Regions from separate parts of the Homo sapiens genome. Here regions 2, 3 and 4 are each linked to region 1. The links are contacts of gene promoters, found by promoter capture Hi-C in blood cells and fetal thymus (Javierre and others, 2016). All regions are on one chromosome and are shown on one strand. The core of a region is centred on a gene start or on the middle of the fragment in contact, and the rest is flanking DNA. Distances in the headings are between cores, read along the strand shown.

Evidence for each region. The method cuts DNA at HindIII sites, captures the fragments that hold promoters and counts their contacts. A CHiCAGO score of 5 or more calls a contact.
Region 2: a fragment that was not itself captured here is called in contact with the fragment with the promoter of SNRPA1 in region 1 in 1 of 17 cell types (M0 macrophages); the score reaches 5.6 in M0 macrophages.
Region 3: a fragment that was not itself captured here is called in contact with the fragment with the promoter of SNRPA1 in region 1 in 2 of 17 cell types (megakaryocytes and M0 macrophages); the score reaches 5.6 in megakaryocytes.
Region 4: a contact is called between a fragment that was not itself captured here and the fragment with the promoter of SNRPA1 in region 1, in 2 of 17 cell types (total B cells and naive B cells). The highest score is 6.6, in total B cells.

What each region holds. Positions count from the first base shown.
Region 1 is chr15:101,293,267-101,296,822 of GRCh38, reverse strand. It overlaps SNRPA1 (small nuclear ribonucleoprotein polypeptide A'), which reads left to right and starts at 1,575. Exons shown (of 9, transcript NM_003090.4): 1 at 1,575-1,726. The coding sequence starts at 1,645. It overlaps SNRPA1-DT (SNRPA1 divergent transcript), which reads right to left and starts at 1,475. Exons shown (of 2, transcript NR_186319.1): 1 at 1,094-1,475. RefSeq lists enhancers at 1,227-1,316, 1,377-1,426, 1,990-2,621, 3,539-3,556 and a silencer at 1,657-1,846. The HindIII fragment of the contact is 2,362 bases long and covers 1,078-3,439 here.
Region 2 is chr15:101,536,667-101,540,222 of GRCh38, reverse strand. No RefSeq gene overlaps it. Among named protein-coding and RNA genes, the nearest start is that of PCSK6, 49 kb to the right of the region's middle. RefSeq lists an enhancer at 3,374-3,556. The HindIII fragment of the contact is 2,539 bases long and covers 1-2,519 here.
Region 3 is chr15:101,463,705-101,467,260 of GRCh38, reverse strand. All of the region lies in intron 1 of PCSK6 (proprotein convertase subtilisin/kexin type 6), which reads left to right. LOC124903566 reads left to right here. Exons shown (of 2, transcript XM_047433427.1): 2 at 1-3,556. Among named protein-coding and RNA genes, the nearest start is that of PCSK6, 24 kb to the left of the region's middle. The HindIII fragment of the contact is 7,610 bases long and covers 1-3,556 here.
Region 4 is chr15:101,125,350-101,128,905 of GRCh38, reverse strand. The region is part of intron 1 of LRRK1-AS1 (LRRK1 antisense RNA 1); the gene reads left to right. Among named protein-coding and RNA genes, the nearest start is that of LRRK1-AS1, 25 kb to the left of the region's middle. RefSeq lists enhancers at 881-1,050, 1,261-1,370, 1,661-1,710 and a silencer at 2,001-2,050. The HindIII fragment of the contact is 1,094 bases long and covers 1,419-2,512 here.

The DNA.
Region 1 (3,556 bases), core at 326-2,825:
TGTTGACCTGTGCCTATAGTCCCGGCTATTTGGGAGGCTGAGGTGGGAGGATCTCTTGAGCCTGAGAGGTCAAGGCTGCAGTGAGTCCTGATGGCACCACTGCACTCCGGCCTAGGTGACAGAGTGAGACCCTGTCTAAAAAAAAAAAAAAAAAAAAAAAAAAAAAATCTAATCATCAACACCATTAAGAGTGAAAAGGCAAGCCACAGAGTGTGTTCATATCCCTAATATATAAAGAAATTCCACAAATCAATAAGAAAAAAGGCAGACAACTCCATAAGGAAAAAAAAAAAATGAGCCAGGGACTCGAAAGAACACTTAACCAAGGAAGCTATCAGAATGGGCACCATACACATGAGAAGGTTCTCAGCTTCATTAGTTATTAGAGAAAAGCAAAGCAAAGCAGTAGTGCAATACCACCACACACCCATCAGAATAGCTGAAGTTATAGAGTTAAAATGCCAAGAAGGCTGAAGCTGGAAGCCATGAAAACCCTTACACACCGCTGGAGTGTGTATATTATTTCAGCCTCTTAGCATAACTGTTGGGCATTACTTATTGATGATAGATATACCCTATGTCCCAGCAGTCCCACTCCAGGACAAACTCATGCAAACGTGCATCAGAACCACGTACCAGAAAATTCATAGTAGCATTACTCAGAATAGCCCTAACTGAAAACAACTTTGATGTCTATCAACAGCAGAATAAGTAATTTATGGTATAATATATACAATGGAATTCTCTTCAGCAGCAAAAGCAAACAAACCATCTCTGTATGCAACCTGGATGGACTCCAGACATAATATAGACTCCATGAAACTAGGCCAAAAAAAAAAGCATACTGCATGATTCTATTTATAGCAAAAGCAAGCAAACCGAATTTGTAGTGTTGAGTTCGCGGTTGCCTTTTGGGAAAGAGGGAGGCTTTCAGAATAGCGGTGTTTTGGATCCCGGTGTCGGCTACGCAGCTGTGTTCACTCTGGTCATTAATCACTGTAAATTCCTGATATGCACACTTTTATGTATATCACATTTCATACATATGAATATTCAGAAGTCTAAAGGTCACAAGCTTAACCGCAAACCCTACCGTGCCCGAGGCCGGGCTGGACTTGCGGGGCGGTGGGGTTGTCCCGGCGACCTGCCCCAGGCGGGCCACCTAGCCCGGGATCTCACACTGTAGCCCGGAGCCAAGGCCCAGGCCCGGGGCGGGCACCTGAACTGCTGGACCCTTCACTGAACCCCACGGGTTCCCGCGACGGCTGGTGGAGGGAGGACAGTCACCGCTTCCCCTCCCACCTCGAGGTGCGCTAATGCATGAGAAAGTTCCCCTCGGGTGTTTCCACATTCGCCTTAACTTTTAAACACCAACGTCTGGAATCAGGGGTCCTCCAGACTCCGAAACACACCCTAGGAAACAACCCAGAACGAGACACATCCCCTGTGCGCGCGCCACGACTTCCGGCAAGAACGCCCCCGGAGGCGTGGCTCTTCGATTGCTTCGGCCTGGCGGTCGAGCTGCGCGCGCACTCGGCGGCTGCGATTGGTGCTGCCTGGCGGCGGGGCGCGGGGCACGCTGGGACGTCTCGCTGGCGGGAGGCCACGGGCTTTCCACAGCGCGGGGGAACGGGAGGCTGCAGGATGGTCAAGCTGACGGCGGAGCTGATCGAGCAGGCGGCGCAGTACACCAACGCGGTGCGCGACCGGGAGCTGGACCTCCGGGGTGAGTCCGGGGGCGTGGGCGGCCAGTCCCCAGGCGGCACCGAGCCGCCTTATTTTCCGCGCTTTGCCGCGTGCACCGAAGGCCGGAGCTTGGCCCGCGGGCCGGTTGTCTGGGCTCCGACCGGGCTGCGCAGGGAACGCCGGGCCTGATTCTTGCCGTTGTTGCCAGATGAGCATCCGGTTAAGCTCCTGGGAGCCTTCTGTTAGCGCCGTGCCTCTTGACAGGCACGGGTGACTTCATTACTTCCTGGTGCGTCCTCGTGGGGCCCTGTTAGGCCTTGCTTGGCTGTTTCGCCGCTGGCTGTTTGAGGGCCCGGAAGAGCGGCTCATTAATGGTTGTAACGCAAGTGCAGGGCGCGGGATTGGTTCTTAATACTTGCCGCCAGATGATATTTTGAGCGTAGATAGGATATGTGTTCATTATTCCTAATGTGAGGGAGGAAACTAAGTCCCCGAACAACCGCGATTGTTTCCTCCAGTATTTTCTACTTAGTAGCTTTAATTGTCTGGCGTTTCCCCTATATGAAGACGTTTTAAAAATTGAACTGTGTCACCCAGGCTTGCACCGCCGGGTGCTGTGTGTAAGTTGTGGAAGCGCTCGCAATTATTCAGATTCCTGTACTATTTCAACCTTAGCAAGACTTGGTAAGATACTGGGAGGGCAGCTAGCTAGTTGGCATTTCAGGAGACGGCTTTAAAAGGGACGTGATAGAGCAACTTCTCTGAGGATAAGACCATGCTGTCGTAGCCTGAGATTTGTTCCCATGGGGACCTATGGCCTCGGAGCAGCATCGCTGCGGGATCTGCTTAGATTTCTTGCCGACCTTTGGGAAATCCCACTGTTTTGTGTTGTGTTGTGTTGAGATGGAGTCTCGCTCTTTCCGCCCCAGCTGGAGCGCAGTGGCGTGATCTCGGCTCACTGCAACCGCCGCCTCCCCGGTTCAGGTGATTCCTGTGTCTCAAGCCTCCCGAGTAGCTGGGAATACAGGCATGCGCCACCACGCCCGGCTAATTTTTTGTATTTTTAGTAAAGACATGGTTTCTCCATGTTGGTCAGGCTGGTCTCGAACTCCCGACCTCAGGTGATCCGCCCGCCTTGGTCTCCCGAAGTGCTGGGATTACAGGCTTGAGCCACTGCGCCCGGCCCAACTCACCACTTTTGATGATCTCTGCCATTTCTCTTTATGGAGCATGTGCAGTGTTGAGAATACGTATTTTGATGCAGTACGTGTAGTACAGCTCTGAATTGTGTCCTTTAACTTTGGGTAAGTTCTTTTTTTAGTAGACCTTGCTTCTTCGGAATATTTCTTTTCTTATAGTGCCTAACACAATAATTATGCCCAAATTAGACAAATTAACATTTGAGTGTTCACAGATTTATTACTGTATTTAAACCATTGATCTTCAATTCTGAATTGGAGCTGGGGGAGGGGAGGGAGAACTGTCGTGATATGTTGAGGCTGTTCTGATGGGTTCTAAGAATCTGGCCTGTGGAGATGCAAGAGTGGAGAACTGTCGTCCACAATGTTTGAACGCCGTTTGGGCACTGAGACTAAGCAGCTCCAAGTGTAAACTCCTGTTGTGCCGATTCCGCTTAACTAGCCCAAACGACTTAGGACAGTGTGAGGCACCTTGTAAATGTTCTTATAAATGTTAGCTGCCTATATCAGCCATTGTTATTGTCCTTGTCCTTGTTGTCATCAGATTCTAAGCTTCATGGCACTGGGGACTTGAGACTCGTTCAGCGTTTTCTCTCTAGTATCTTAAACAGCGGCAAGTCATGCGTGACCCGACATAGGTGCTAGGTAATACTTCCTGAATAAATCAAAGC
Region 2 (3,556 bases), core at 1-2,500, 240 kb before region 1:
TGAACACTGCAGAGGGTGGGATGCTAGAGGGAGCTTTAGGAAGTGGGAGGCAGGGACAGGGATAATGAAGTGTCCGTACAAGACACCACCCTGGCTTCAGGAATCAGTGGCCAGGGCCCGTTGCTTCTCCACATACTGCAAGGCAGGCCCTGGACCTGACTGTTATTATTTCATGGCCAGGGGCATGTGGAACACACTGTATTTTGTGTTGAAGTCTCTTTGAATCATCACCCGGTGATTTGCATTCCTAAAACTCAAGATGTGGGCGTTTATATGAATATTTTAATACTGTTCTTAGAGGTAGCGTTCGAGGCTACCCCTTAATTAATTTGATTTTTGGAATCTGGAGAGAAAAAGTTTTGCCAGGAATGCATTATTGGCCTACCAGGGGCCCCCTTCCACCTCTGCAGACACAGACACACGCACCCGAACCCCTTCCACGAAGGCTGCTTGCTGTTCAACAAACACAGGTGCAGAAGCCACTCCAGCTGGAAGCAGGGTTGCAGCAGCGTCCTCTCGGCCAGAGCTCACTCCGTCCTTCTCAACACTTCCATGGACTTGTCCCAGCGCCCGGAGGGCAGCAGGGCACAGGCTGACCTGGCACAGTATGCTTGAATCCCCGCCGCGGTCCTGTTTCCATTTGAGAAGTTTATTCACGTTGTTTCAGTTTTATTTTTATTACATGAATAGTACCAGCTTATTGGTGAAACATTAGAGAATAGGCGAAAACAAATGAACAGCAACTCCAATTCCTCTGTCCAGATATTCAGAAATTTTCCTGTGTGTGGGCATAAGCATGCACGTACATGTGCACACACTTCCAGTTACAATAGCTGTGTAACAAACTATCCCCAAAACAGAGTGGCATAAAACCACCATCTATTATCCTATGAGAGGAACTTGGTTGTGTGCAATGGGGATGGTTCTTCTCTGCCCAGTAACGTCTGGGGTCTCAGCAGAGACACTAGGAGGGTCAGTATCATCTGAAGCCTCGTTCAGGCCAGTGCTGGGTGTTGGTGGCCAGTTGGTGCTGTTGGCCTCTTCAAGCGGCCAGGGCTTCCTCACAACATGGTGGCTGGGTTCCGAGGGCAAGTGTCCCAAGAGATAGAGAGAGCCAGGCAAAAGCAGCTTTTCTGACCTAACTTCAGGAGTAATGGGCGTCTCCTTTACCACCTCATTTTAGCTGAAAGTTGCAGAGACCTGCCAGGCTCAAGGGGAGGGAAGAGACACTCCGCCTTCGGACAGAGAGTGGCAGAGTTCTGGAAATGCATTCAGGACCAGAAATACTGCTATGGCCATTTTTGGAAAACACAATCTGCCATGTTAAAATTTCATAATATTTTCATGCTACACTTACAGCTTCCCTTTTATTGAGGTATAACATTCACACAATGCAGGGCTCAAATCTTGAGTATACAGCTCAATGATTTGATAAGTCTATAATCCTTTGTATCCCCCCACCCATCAAGACAGAGAACATTTCTGGCATCTGGAGGGTTCCCTATGCCCCTTGCTGGTCAATACCCACCCTTTTCCCCACGCTTGCACACTCTCTGACTTTTATCACTAAAGATGTGTTTTCTAGCCTGTGTTTTTCCCAAACGCATTATTAATGGTTAACCATGCCAGTACTCACTTTGAATAGCTGTATGGTTCACACACGTATGGAAATATCATCGTTTAACCAATAACTTGTGGTTGGAACTCTAAGGGTTTTACAACATCCATGAGGGAAAATCAAAAGATGGTAGACCATGGCTCTGCCCAAGGGCCCTATCACCACAACCCACCTCGTGAAAACTGTTGGCTGCCTTCACCCCCAACCTGGGGTTTCCTGGGGACAGTAATGGGGACAGCTGCTGGCCAGACAGCACTGGTCACAAGGGAAGATGGTCCCTCCACAAGGCATATATATGGCTTGATCCTCCTGGGGTTGGCCTGAATGACTTGGAAAGGAGATTTATTTATCTGCCACCATTTTAACCATCTGTCCAGTAAGAAGACTATGTCCCAGAGGCTGAACATACATGGTGGCATGGTGGCCTGCCTTTCATACTGCTCTCCTGTATCTCTGCTTTCTCTGAGTGGATAGCATTTCTCCTCTGTCTGTGTCCCTTCAGAATGCCTGGGCTGAAATGTGCTTTGCAATTAAGTGGCACAGGCTTGCTTTATAGACTTTCCTTGTCTGTTAGTTCTAAGTCTTTCCTATAAGGGTGTCATCATATTTGCCCACAACCAAACAAGAAGATGAAAGGGAGGAAAGGGTAGAGGCATGAGGAAGAGAGGGGGAAGGAGAGGGGAAGTACTGGCTGGAGGAAGAGAGGAGCCACTGTTCTAATTTTGCTAGGGGGGAAGTCAGGGTTTGTGAGGTCATATATCATCATGTTGAGTTTACAAATAAAGACACCAGAGACCACTGGTGCTCAAACACAGGATGCAGACGCTCTGTCTGCAAGGCATTTTTTTCTAAGGAAAATTAAATTCCAAAAATATTTGCACTGACTTGAAAAAAAAAAGCTTCTCCTCACGTCTCCCAGTTTCAGCTGCATTCCTCATTTGTATGTTGAGTATGAATCCCTTTTTAAAAAGTTTAAATAAGAACAGAAGCTATCCAAGATTGGAGAACACATTGTGTAAATGGAAAGAACACACTAAATGGGAAGCAAGAAAAAGTGGAGAGAAAGCCCCTTCCTTCCCCATTAAATGGCATGGAAAGGCAGCCCTCAGAAGCTCCCTCCTGATCATCCAGCCATCAGATGGCAAGGGAGAGGGCCGTGTAAGGAGTGCTGTGTTTGGGGCACAGGTGGGGCCAGCATGAGAGGGGAGCCCGGGCAGTAACTCCAGGATGGGATGAGAGTGCCATCCCCAGAGGCAGAAGGCAAGCCTGCAGAGCTTCACTGTGGCCCCTGCAGATTTGTCAGAACGGCATCTGCAGGCAGCACATTTTAGGAACACAAGTGATCGACTGATCCCGGCGGCCTTCCTCAGCTGGGAATAACAGCAGAAGGGAATGTCTTAGGATCCAGAGATGGGACCAGCTAGCTTGCCAAGTGCTTCTCGGCCTCCGCCCGCCATGGAGCCATTGTCCCTCCCGGGTGCCTGCAAACCTTAGGGCAGTGCTGGGTGGTCACTGCGCTCCTCTCCTCTGCCAAACCCTGAAGAGCTGCCTCCGGAGAGGGACACCTCGCCGTGAGCACACCCTCTGCTGCATCCTTGGCTCCGCACAGGAAAGATCAGCTCGCGAGGCCCCCTGGGCCTTATGCCCCGTGACGGCTCTAGGAGGGTTCCCTGTGGGCAGCAGCAGATGGGGCGGGGACAGGCCTCCAAGACTAAGAGCCCCGGGTGTGGCCGCGAGTCACCATTTCTGCTCTGTTAGGTGAAGAACTTGGAGAAACTGATTCACGTCAGGGAGATGAGAAAGGGCAGGCATTCCACTCCCGTTAGCTCGTAGAACTCCTCGCCACTGCCCTGCCAGGAAGACCCAGACAATGAAGCTGGGGCCCGGAGGCCGAATCACTGGCCCCAGGACAGCGCTGAGCTGGGGACCACCCACCAC
Region 3 (3,556 bases), core at 397-2,896, 170 kb before region 1:
AACAGCCTTATACAAGACCGCTAGTACACAAATGCCAGAGTTTCTTTGGGGTGTGTGCCTAGAATTGGGATTACTGGGTGTACATATACGGCATATGAATCCTTTGTCAGTTAACAGGAGTGGGAAACCGTGTTTCCCAGTTTATGAATTTTTTTTACCTGTATGGGGTGTCTTCTGATTAAACTGGAGAGTTAACTTTTACATAATTGTATATAAAAATTTATTCTCTTTTAATAACAATTCTGTTAAGTTATAATTCACATAGGATGCACCTATCTAGAGCATGCAGCTCAGTGGGTTTTGGTACATTCAGAGAGTTGTACAACTGTCCCCGCACCCCATCTGATAACATTTTCATCACCCCAGAAAGAAATGCTATCCCCGTCTTAGCAGTCAGTCCCCATCTACCCCACTCCCTTAACCCTAAGCAGCCACTCATCTACTCTCCGTCTCTCTAGATTTGCCTATTCTGGACATTTCATATAATGGAATCATACAGTAATAATAGGGTCTTTTTGTATCTGGCTTCTTTGACTTAGCATGTTTTCAAGGTTCATCCATTTTATAACATGTATTAATATGTCATGATTTTTATCACCAGATAACATTCCACTGTAATGAATTGCCCACATTGTGTTTGCTCATTTATCAACCGATGGACATTTAGGTTGTTCCCAGGTTTTTTGCTGTTGTGAATAACGCTGCTGTGGATATTCACGTGCAAGTTGTATGTGGACGTATGTTTTTACCTTTCTAGGGAGCTTATCTAGCTGTGGAGTGGCTGAGTCATATGGCAGCTCTATGTTTACATTTCTGAGAAACTGCCAGGCTGTGGACCCACCCTTCACGGTCTCACCAGCCATGTCTGAGGGTTCCAGTGTCACCACATCCTCATCAGCACTTGTGATGATGCGTCTTTTTTTCTGCACCCATCTCATAGATGGAGTGGTTTGCATTTCCCTTACGGCTAATGACGTTGAACGTATGTTCCTGTGCTTTTTGGTCATTTGTGTCTCTTTTTTAGAGAACCGTCTGCTCAGATTTTTGTTCATGTTTAGTGGGTTTATGTGGCTTTTATTGTTGTATATTCTAGATACGAGTCCTTTATCAGACACGTGACTTGCAGTCATTGTCATCCTTCTCTGGGTTGTCTTTTCACTTTCTTGATGGTGTCCTTTGGAGCACGGACATTGTTTTTTTAATCCACTCTGACATTCTCTGTCTTTTGATTGGTGTGTTGAGACCATTCACATTTAAAGTCCTTGCTGGCGTTGTTGGATCAGTATCTACCGTGTTTGTAACTTTTCTGTTTGTTACATTTGTTCTCCGCACCCCTGCCCCTCCCCAACCCCACTCCTTTCTGCCTTCTCTGGTTTTCATTGAGCCTTTTAGATAATTCCATTTTGTCTCCTTGCTTAATGTGTCGATTATACTTCTCTTAAAATTTTTTTAGTGGTTTCCTTAAAGATTACAATACAGTTCATACTTAACTGATTTAAGTCCACCTTGAAGTAATACCGTGCGGCATCACGTGTAGTTCAGGTGCCTTAGATCATTACCAATGTCCCCCTCACGGCCCCATCTCTTAGGACACCATTGTCTTCCTTCAGTTAGCGCTTCCTCTGTTCTTGTTTAAGAAATCCTTCCTACCCCACAGTCAGAAAGATCTCCTCTAGTGCTAGTCAGTGTCTCAGAAGGCAACAGGTGGCCCCTCTGTCCTCTTCTAATAGCCCTCATCCCGCCAGCTCAGAGCCAGAGTGGAGCCTCAGCCGTTCCTGGGTGTGTCCGCACACTCTGCTCTGGAGCTGGGGAATGACCTCAGGAGGGGCTGAGCTGCACTGGACGTACCATCAGATGGTCCTGTTTCCATGAGCAGAACAAGACGTGCTGTTTCCACCCAGCTCAGGACCTGTGCGTCTCAGTAGCACATCAGGGCTGTAGAATCAGTGCGGGTTTAGGGCCTGTGTTTAGTAGCCAGTGGGAGGTCAGCGTGTGTCCCTGTCCCCAGCACACAGCCGCCTGGCAACAAGTGGCCATGCGAGTCTGGGGAACGTGTGAGGACAGGCTGAGGACAGGCTCACCACACACGCTGATTGCCCCTCGCAGGGCCCTTTCTTAAAGGGTCCCAGCCTCCCCGTCATTGGTCTGGACACTGGATGATGTTGCAAATCCCCACTATGGTTCTGCTCAGCAGACCCAGTAGGTCCCAGCTTCTGTGTGTCAAGCGGCATCTGATCAGGCTTGCCCTCTTTTTCATCTTGGAGCCTCTCCCCAGGTCCTGCGAGTCAAGTACACTGAGTAGCCTCTGTCCCCTTGCTTAGGTGATCACTCTGGTATGCCCGCCGCTGGCCCCTACTACCCAGGATCCCGCAGTTCCCGTGGAGAGTGGGAACCTGGTGCTGTGGGAGCATCCCTTGTCACCGGCGGGATAGAGCGGACAGCCTCCATGGACTTCTTTAGGAGGACGCTGACCCTCCCCCAGGCATTTTCCTAACCCCTTGGTGAGGAGACCAGCTCCAGGCCTCCCCAGGGAGTATAGGCCAGGTGGCTTAACAGGGTGTCACGCAGTAGATCCCTCCAGCCTCCCATTTCCCTGCATTCCCAGCAGACCAGCAGCAGCTACATTTGGGACCTTGTTAGAAATGAAAATCCTTGGACCCCACCACAGCCTGCTCGATCACAGACTCCGGGAGAGGGCCCAACAATCTGGCTTTAATAAACCGTCTGGGGCTGGAGAACCACAGCTCTGCAGGATGTCCCGGAGGTCCAGCATACTGACCTCATCAGCGATTGGTTTTTATTAATTCTAGACTTGGATTAGCCAATCTTGTAGACTATACACACCCCTCGATGTTCAAGGTTCACATTAAATGACCAAATTGTGAGGGAACCACCTTGTCCACACGTGTGGGTACATATGACCTACTTGCATTTCGTCCCGCTTGGAGCCCACCTCCCAGGCTCCTGCCCCCACACAGTGGACATCTCCTTCTGACGCAGTTCCTGTGCCTTGGGGTCTGCCTTGTTTTATGGGCCCAGGTGGCGCAGGATGTGGGTGAGTCTGTGGAGAAAGGGCACCAGCTTGCAAGGCAGCAGCCCCAGGAGCAGCCTGGGAAGGCTTTGTGCAGAGGAGGCCTGTTTCCTCCTACGTGTTGGGAGAGTTGTCTCTGCAGATGGTGGGTGAGAGTTCGCTGCCAAAACCACTGTCTTCCCTGCCCTGCGGACACTTCTTCCTCACCTTCCTAAAACTGTAAGAGACCTGGAGCCGTTGAGCATCAATGACTCTTTGACTCAGGAATCTTAAAAAATCACACCCTGGGGCTACCATGGGGGCCTTCTGGTTCTCCTTGTGTATTACTAGTTGAATGTTTATAGCTTTCAATTTCTTTTTCCCCTTCTATATGCTCTCTAAGGACATAGGAAGAATCTACCTGACCTCACAGCTTTGGTAGGCACTGTTATTGCCACACCCTCTTCTCCCAGTGGGCACCCCACACCCCAACTCCCCGGCACGTTGTTCAGTGGGACTGCCAGTATCATGTATAATCATGAATGC
Region 4 (3,556 bases), core at 716-3,215, 170 kb after region 1:
CTGTGACCTCTGCTTGACAATGCTTGCTGCCTTGGAGCTGACGGGCTCTCGTCCAGCTCAGCTGGGGCACAAAACCGTGTAGCTTTGTCTAATTAAGAGCCACAGATGAAGTGCACCTTGGATGTGTTTCTTATTATTTCGGATGAAAGGTTGGCCTCTCTAGAAATCACCCCCAAGATTACTGTGCCTCAAACCTCGCTTGTTCCAGCCGATAGGGAAATGACGTTTTAACGATCATGTTAAATGAAACTGTAAGCTTGACCTTATTAGCTGCCTCTTCTTAATTAGCTGCTTATGCAAGCATTCTTTCCCCCCTGTAGATACAAATCAACAATTTCCAAGCCATCTTTGAACCAACCCACTCTTCTGTCCCCTTGCCAATTCCCTAGCTCCAGGGTTAATAAACTTCACATATGCTCAAGAGCAATTGCGTTAAGAAATGTTGCTTCCACGTAATTACTAGCAAAGTGCAGCATCAGCAGCCATTCATCCCTCACACATGTGCAAATTTACTGCAGGGTACATTCCTAGGAGTGTGTGTCATGGAGGACGGCTTGGCAGCTAGCATTCTGTGTGCTCTCCTCGCTGTTCCTTCAAAGGCTGGAAGGTGAGCCACTGCTTTTCCCGCTTCCCTTGCCGCTAGAGTTCTAAATGTGAAATGGGTTATGCCCGGTGGTCAATGTTTAACAACCAGCTCTCAAAAAAAAACAAAAAAACAACACAAAACAAAAGCAACCCGGCTGTTAGTGCTTGCTGATTTCCATGGTGTAAATATATCCACTGTGGTCAATTTCAATCTTGCTATCCCCTGGTGTCCCTGGACCTGGAATTGGAATTGCCGTGCACCGTTGGCTGTCACTAGGCTGAGCCAGCTCCAGCACATCCATAGTCCTGCCAATTCTTCGCACACCACTATGATTCAGAGGCCAAGACTCTCCTCCTGCTGCTTTTGGCCGTTTCTGCTGGCGAGCAAAGTTGTGGTGGTTGTTTTTCCTGTGGCAGCGTTCCAGGGTCCATTCAGTCCCTTTGTGGGGTCAAGAGGCAGGTATGGTACAGCACTGGGAGCCTCCCGACCCCCACCTGGCTGAGTGGAGTCAGGCTAGCAGAGCCCAGCCGGCTGGTCCCCAGGCCTTTTTCCGGGCACCACGCCAATAGGCCTGGCCCATGCCTCTCAATAAAACGGTAAGCCCCTAATTTCCTGTCTAAACCCCTTTTTGCTTAAAATTGTTAGAGTGGTTTCTGTTTCCTGTAACTAAACCCTGGCTGATGTAAAGTGGAACCTGAAACTGCATTTTTTTTTTTTTAAAGCAGATGTACGTTTTCCTTAGGCTTGTCTCCTAATCTGTCTGTGCAGAAGGATTTTAATGCGTTGTGAGGCCTGGGAGGACAATAATGAGTAAATTGGCACTCATTAAGCTTTGTAAATCTGAGAACTCTGGAGACAAAGCATCTGAGTGAGCTGAGAAGGGTGAGACCCACTTCTAGGGTCTGTGAGGCCCTGTCCTCTTAGCACTCCTTCTGCCAGGCCCCGGCAAGGCTGTCTGTGTTCACCAGGCAGAGGCTAGGCTGTAGGATGCTGGCGTTAGTTAGGGAGAAACTGGATTTTCTTAGATCCACAGAATCAGACACAAGTCATGAGACTATGTCATTTAGTTTGCAACTCCAAATGCTTTTGAGGCTGAGTTAACTGTGGGACGTCTCTTTGGATTTACTCTCAGGCAGGGCTCCTCCCTGGGGAGCAAACTACTCCTGAGGTGAGATGGGGGAGAACAGATGTGTACCAGTGATCCCAGCAGCCTAGGGAGGAGGCCCGACTTGCAGAGGCATTCTTTCAGCTCATTAAAGAGCACCCTCTTTGATAAAGGCAATTACCTCTTGGGAAAGAAGCCTGTTAGCAGCCCTCAGAACCTGGGTGTGAATGAATTTCCAGGTTCTTTCCAAGCTGAGAGCAGGTAGGTACTGCGAGGATGAGGCACAGCCTGGGTAAGTCTGGCAGCCGGAACTGTGGGGAGTAGACCCACCCACGGTCACTAATAAGAGGGGCTAGTCGGGACTGTGCCCTGAGAAGTGGGAGCTGAGCCCTGCAGAACCAGCTTCTAGGCTCTGTCCCCTCCTGCTGGCCCTTGGATAAGCCTCTCTGGGCCCCCTGCTTTCTCATCTGTCAAATGGGGATTATATTACCTAGCCTCATAATGTTCTCCTGCGGTGGGTAAAATGGAATCTTCAAAGCGCTAGGGAAATAGAAAGTGAGGGCGGGGTAGTGGGAGCTGTGGGCCTGGGTTCAGGCAGCGAGGTGACACACTGTCACTGAAGTCACAATAATAAAATCTACTAAGTCAGACGACTGGTGTTTTTGTTGCTGTTGTTTGTTTTTCTAATTACCAGGCATGATTAAATACTCCTGCCAGGGAAAATATTTTGTTGATCTAAATTCTAAACAATTGTGAGGGTTTATGTATATATATATATACTTCAAATCAACATGATTTTATTTATTATCCTTTGATAAGCTTTGTATTCCAAGTGAAAGTTAATTTCAGAACTCCCAGGTATAAAGTCGGTCCAGAAATGTGCTTTTCAAAAGTAAGTTGTGAGCCGTCTGAAGCCACTTTGGACATCATTCACGTCTCCAGTGCCCCAGGGTGCTGTGAATTCCTACATTTAAACAGCAGATTTGACGAAGCAACAATAGCACAGTGATCGGAAAGAGGAAGATTCGGAACTTAAGTTACTTCAATTCTGTATTCTGTGTGACCATTGAAGTCTTGTTTGTGTTTAACATTTAAAACAGTATAAGAGGCCAGGAGCGGTGGCTCATGCCTGCCGGTAATCCCAGCACTTTGGAAGGCCGAAGTGGGCGGATCACAAGGTCAGGAGTTCAAGACCAGCCAGACCAACATGGTGAAACCCTGTCTCTACTAAAAATACAAAAAATTAGCTGGGCGTGGTGGCAGCCGCCTGTAATCCCAGCTACTCGGGAGTCTGAGGCAGGAGAATCCCTTGAACTCAGGAGGCAGAGGTTGCAGTGAGCCGAGATCGCGCCACTGCACTCCAGCCTGGGTGACAGTGTGAGACTCAGTCTCAAAAACAAACTAACAACCCCAAAAAACAGTACAAGAGCACAAACTGCAAGGTGAGGGGACATTTTAGTTCATATATGAAATATTTTACTACATTGGAATGATATATTTAAAATTGGAAACATGTTCTTTTTAAATTATTAATTTAAAACTAAGGAACAAATCAAGAAAATTAAATATTAGAGAAAATATAGTAGTTGCCCAAGTTTTATCTTTTGCAGATGTTTTGTCTCATTTACTGAAATATAATTGATATACCATAAAATTCACTGTTTTAAAGTATACAATTCAGTGTTTGCTTTTTCTTTTTCCTTTAACCGTACTCACAAGGTTGTACAGCTTTCACTGCTATCTAATTCTAGAATATCTTTGTCACCTGAAAAATAAACCCCATACCACGAGCAGTCACTCTTCACTTCCCTCAGCCCTGGGCAGCCACTAGTCTATGTCTTCATGGATTTGCCTATTCTCAGAAT